Linked DNA regions of Homo sapiens: region 1 is linked to region 2. Evidence: promoter capture Hi-C in human tissues and cell types (Jung and others, 2019). All regions are on one chromosome and are shown on one strand. Each heading gives the region's core, a stretch centred on a gene start or on the middle of the fragment in contact. The rest is flanking DNA. Distances are from core to core; before and after follow the strand shown.

Evidence for each region. The method cuts DNA at HindIII sites, captures the fragments that hold promoters and counts their contacts. A contact is called where the count stands out against the background at its distance.
Region 1: a fragment that was not itself captured here is called in contact with the fragment with the promoter of CLCN7 in region 2 in 3 of the 25 tissues and cell types used here (IMR-90 fibroblasts, aorta and small bowel).

What each region holds. Positions count from the first base shown.
Region 1 is chr16:1,559,099-1,561,911 of GRCh38, forward strand. All of the region lies in intron 18 of IFT140 (intraflagellar transport 140), which reads right to left. Among named protein-coding and RNA genes, the nearest start is that of TMEM204, 27 kb to the left of the region's middle. RefSeq lists a silencer at 555-740 and an enhancer at 2,707-2,813. The HindIII fragment of the contact is 9,348 bases long and covers 1-2,813 here.
Region 2 is chr16:1,473,686-1,476,463 of GRCh38, forward strand. CLCN7 (chloride voltage-gated channel 7) reads right to left here and starts at 1,343. Exons shown (of 25, transcript NM_001287.6): 1 at 1,149-1,343. The coding sequence starts at 1,289. RefSeq lists silencers at 1,086-1,295, 1,416-1,765 and an enhancer at 1,303-1,846. The HindIII fragment of the contact is 17,994 bases long and covers 1-2,778 here.

The DNA.
Region 1 (2,813 bases), core at 153-2,652, 85 kb after region 2:
GTGGAGGGCCTGAGGACGGATGTGACTGGGGCCCATCTGCAGGGTGCTGAGTGCTGAAGGGTTTGGACTGCTTCTGCCTTGAGTGGAAACTGTCAGAAAACGTACACGCACAAAAACAACAGGGAATTCCTGCCTGCTCTGGTTTAATAAACTGCAAGGAAGCGCCCTGACCTCTGATAACAATGTCAGCTTGGTGTGGACAGAATGGGTACCCAGTTCGCTGTGTGAATGGGAATTCTCATCATTCACCATGTCCTGCTCACAGCTCTGTGAGGGAGGGACTGTCTATCCCACGTCACAGCTGACCAGTCACACGGTGCAGAGGCAGGGTCCTAAGAGCTGCTGGACCCGGATCCACCCTCATACCTCGGAGAAACTAGGCCGAGCCGTTTGAAAATGTGAACAAGGGCAGCGTTAACAGACAAAAGACGTCATGGCTAGTCCTCACTAGACTTGAATGGCTGAGTTACGAAAACTCCCTCTATTGCAAATGTAGGTAAACTAAGTACTTCCTGTGTCCCACACAGCAGAGGAAAGAGCTGCTGTGTCACATGTCCCAGCCATGACCACAGCTGGCTCCTGATGAGCTTTGCTAGGTGAGAGGCATCCTGCTCAAATAAAGAGAGCTGACACTGAGTGTCTCAGGCTTCCAATAGACCTCGGTAAAGCGAACATGCAAGGTAAGCAGAAAGTATCGGTGCACAGACAATTGTACTGAAAATAAGGGAGGAAAAGGATCTCAGGAAAACAACCCGGTGAAGCAAATGACACACGACCTGGGCGTCTGTACTTACGACTGCGTCATACACGCCTGCTCTCTGGAACAACAACTATGAGGAGTGGACGCATGCGGGAAGGTGAGAAATGAGAGAGAAAAGAACAGATGCATGAGTGTGTGCAAGACACAAACGCCACCATGCAAAATTAATGGGGAAAAACTCAACAGAAATAATGTAAAACATTGTTAATGCTTTGAGTTCTGAAATAAAAGAGAAATTAAAGCACATAAGAAACGTAAAGCCAGCATGAAATTCGGAGGAACGCCAATCTGGTGACACTTGTCTATTAAAATACGGGAATTAAGGAAACATGCATTGACAGAGCAGGGAGCCCTCCATTTGGCGAATCACACGATGCTTTCCCAGTCTTCATGAAGCCAGACTGCCTCCACCGCAGGGAACAGTGTGACGCATAAACCAGCACCACGCCGGCCTCTGCTGGCTGTGCAGCCTGGCTCTACATGGTGACCAGGAACACGGCCGCCAACCGCACCCAGGTTCGCGTTTGTGTGAATGCTGTTAATTCATCACTGCACACAAGGTTCCAGCAGAGCCCGAGGACCAGAGGCCAGCACACACCTGGTCACGTCATTGTCACAAGTTAGGCAGTGCCCCACCCCACCACCACCGTGTCCTTTATGCCAGGTCCTATGAAGGTGAATGCCAGCTCAGGGGTGTGTGTGGAGCCGGTGCGCCCGCGGTCCACCGTGGTGGCTGCTGGTGCAGTAGCATCTGTGTTGGCTTCTGTGGCCATGCAGGGCTGCCTGTCCTTCCCCTTCTCGGAATGTCCCTCTGGGGTCTACGCTCCCTCTGTCCCAGTTTAAATGCTCCCTCGACCCACCTTGGGTTATAAAAGTAACACAGGCTTACTGAAGAAAATTAGAAAAGTACAGAGTTCATTCTTAACATCGATAAGCCACTGCATGTGGAAATTCAAAAGCAATCCAGGTCCGAGTCTACAGGGTTTAGTCCTTCCTCTGATTTGACAGTAAACAGGAAGAGGCAGAGAAGACTCTGTGCGTGTTGTTTGCTGACGGAGTGTGTAACAGGAGAGAAGCTTCCATGTTTCACAGAAATAAAAGCAGCAGCAGCTGGTGGCATCCTAGGTCCCGAAAGGTGGAAGCTGGTGGCCCCCTGCCTCCCGCCTGCAGAACCCCTGTGGGGCTCACAGGCCGGCGCCAGCTGGGACGTGAGTCTGAGCCTTAGGTCAGCCAGGCTCCTCTCTGAAAAATCCCCACACGTGACTCGGGATGCTCCCAGAGGCTGAGAACAACAGGTCAGTGAAGCGAGGGGAGCAGCTCTCTCAGAGCCAGGCACTCCACCGTGTCTCAGAATGCTCGTGGGGCACACATGGGCTGCTGTTCTGCAGAGAAGCTGCAGATCCTTTGATCAGCACGCCCTCTCAGAAGCAGAGAATGACTGTTTCAGGTCCAAAAGGGACCTTGGAGACACGGGGACCAAGTCGCAGAGAAGGAAATAACTTGTTCAAAAGAACCTACTGGGGTGTGTGTACTGATGACGATCCCATTCTCTCAGTAATTTAAAAACACGTCCATGCATGAGTCACACACGGACGGGTGTCCAGAAGCCAGAACCCTACTGAAAGGAGCCACCAGCCTGCCCACAGTGGCTGCCTCCAGGCTGGGATTATGGAGATTTGTACTATTTGGGTCTTTACTTCATTCTTTGTAGTTCCTAAGATCCCTACAGTGAATATAGAAATGCATAATTTTAAGAAGGCAGCTAGAATTTTAGAAAGACAGAAAAGCTAAAAAGGTGTTCAGCATTCGGGGAAAAGGCAAGGGGGAAGGGTGCAGAGTCCTGAGTCCTGCCCGAGAGCTCCTTCACCCGGAGACAGCACTCATTAGCACGAGTTCTCTCTATCCTGAGAGCAAAACCACTTCCAATTCTCCCCAGACAGACCGCAGTGTTTGCTGGAATTTCAGGCGACAAGTGAGACTGGATGGCTGATGCTGTCTACGGAGAGGGAAGCCCGGCAGAGCCACGAGGGCTAACTCACATTTCAGCTCCCTG
Region 2 (2,778 bases), core at 93-2,592:
TTTAAGCACAAGACAAGTGTTTAAAGGACTAGACAAGAGAAAATGTAAAGAATAACTGCAAAGCAGATTAAGACCCATCAACAAAACGGTCCATTAACTCAAAAGTAACACAATACGGCCAGGCGCAGTGGCTCACGCCTGTAATCCCAGCACTTTGGGAGGCTGAGGTGCGGGGGATCACGTGAGGTCGGGAGTTCGAGGCCAGCCTGACCAACACGGAGGAACCCCGTCTCTACTAAAAATACAAAATTAGCCGGGCGCGGTGGCGCACGCCTGTAATTCCAGCTACTCAGGAGGCTGAGGCAGGAGAGTCACTTAAACTCGGGAGGTGGGGGTTGCAGTGAGCCGAGATCGCGCCATTGCACTCCAGCCTGGGCAACTACAGTGAAACTCCGTCTCAAAAAAAAAAAAATATTAAGACAATACACAGACAGGGAAACAAATGTACCCGCAACGGTTCTCCAGACCTTAACACTGCTCAGACGCACGCTGCAGGGTGACATGCGGAACGCATTCCAACCTCTGACTTGCTGCTTATTGTGTTTGCCTGCACATTGCAAATTCAACTCGGTGCGAAGGGAGACTGAGTACAAATACTCGTCACTCCCAAGATCACCTGAAAGTCGGGACTGATCCCCACACAGAAAGATGGCAGATAAAGGCGCTCAGTCATTCTCACTGAAAGACAGTGACCCGGCTGCAATCTTAACTGTTTCCATCTCCCAGGGGGTCAAAAACGCAAACAAAATTAGTTGCTCGTGTAGGATGACAATTTTTAAAAGTCACCTGAACAGAAAGCCACTTGCACCCCTTTAGGGCCAGTCTGGGGGACACCGGAGGGAATGAACGTGCGCCACGGCTGCCCCGGCGCCCCTCAGCGCCCCACATTCCGCGGGGTCTGGCGAGCTCCGCCTCGCCCACGCAGCCCTCCCGGCCACCGAGCCCGGCGCGGCCTCCGAAGACTCCAGACCCCAGGCGCCCCCGCCAGCCCGGCCCCGCCGAGGAGCCCCGGGGCGCGTTCCCGAGTCCACCGCGCCTCGGTCGCCTCCAGGACCGAGACACGCGGCGCCGCCAGAAGGCTCACGAGGGCGCGGGCTGCGGGGCGCACGAGGGCTCAGTTTCCCCGCCTGCGCCCTGCCCGGCCTCACCTGGCGCGCAGCCCCAGGCCCAGCCCCGTTCAGCAGCGGCGTCCCCCCGCCGGGCCGCGCCGTCCTCCGCAGCAGCGGCGCCGCCTCCTCGTCGTCCCGGTCCCGGCCGGACCAGGACACCTTCTTAGAGACGTTGGCCATGGCCCGCCGCGGAGCGACACCGGCCGGGAAGCGCCGGCTGCCCCCGTGTTTGTTCTCGTGACCCGCGCCGGCGGCCACGTGACGCGCGACGGGGCCACGTGATGAGCGACGGCGACCATGTGACCTGCAACGGCAACCACCGAGGCCCGGTCGCGCGGGGGCTCCTGGGAGCCGCGCTCCCGGCGGGTCGTGGCGCCGCCCGCCCTAGAGAATCGCCGCGGCCCTGAGGACCCCGTTCTGCCCACGCGACTGCAAAGGCGGCCCCGTTGGGCTGAGCGCCGAGTGCTTGGGAGGCGAATGGCCGCCCCCGGGACCTCGGGCCCGGGAGTCGGGGCGAGGGAAGCGCCCGGGGCCTGAGGGCAGGAGCCGGCTGGAGGGGCTCCCCCAGGCCCGGTCGCCCGCGCCGATCGTGACGGAGCCGCGGTGGGGAAGGGAGGAGGGAGGCAGGGGCGAGGGCAGGCCTTTCCTTGCCATAGGCGGCGGCTAAAGACGTGAAGGATGAAATTAGAAGTCCCGAAGCATGCATCCGCCCTCGCAGTAGGCACTCGGGCGAGGGTCGGAGTGGAGGCTTCCTCCAGGCAGCCCCAGAGGGTCCTCCCGCCTAATGAGAAAAGAACAGAAGGCGAGTCCTCTTCAACGATCAGGCCCCAGAGACAGTACAGGAGGGTCGCCTCTGGAAACTGCCGGCTACTACGCAGATAGCTGTGAATTAGCCAAATAGCCGCCCGGACCCTGTACCCGCACCAGGGCACAGCCCATCACTAATCAATGGTATTTCCATAAACCAAAGAGAATTCTTGACAGCTTTACATCAGCCCCCACCCTGTCCCCACCTTCTGGGTCATTTATTTATTTATTTTGAGACAGGGTCTCCTTCTGTCGCCCAGGCTGGAGTGCGGTGGTGCGGTCACAGCTCAGTGCAGCCTTGACCTCCTGGACTCAAGCCATCCTCCCGCCTCAGCCTCTGGAGTAACAGGGACCACAGGCCTGCACCACCACACCCGGCTAATTTTTGCTGTGGAGCTCACAGTGTGTTGCCCAGGCTGTTCTCAAACTTCTGACCTCAAGTGATCCTTCCACGTTAGCCTCTAGAGTAAACTCTTTATATTTTGTGCCTCATCCTCTTCCTTTTAAAAGGTCGATATTTTTATTATTGAGACGGAGTCTCACTCTGTCGCCCAGGTTGGAGTGCAGTGGCCCAATCTCGGCTCACTGCCTCCCGGGTTCATGCCTCAGCCTCCCGAGTAGCCGGGACTACAGGCGCCCGTCACCATGGCCGGCTAATTTTTTGTATTTTTAGTACAGATGGGGTTTCACTGTGTTAGCCAGGATGGTCTCGATCTCCTGACCTCGTGATCCACCCGCCTCGGCCTCCCAAAGTGCTGAGATTACAGGCGTGAGTCACGGTGCCCGGCCTTTTTTTAAATTATTATTATTATTTTTTTATTTTTGAGACACAGTCTCACTTTGTCACCCAGGCTGAAGTACA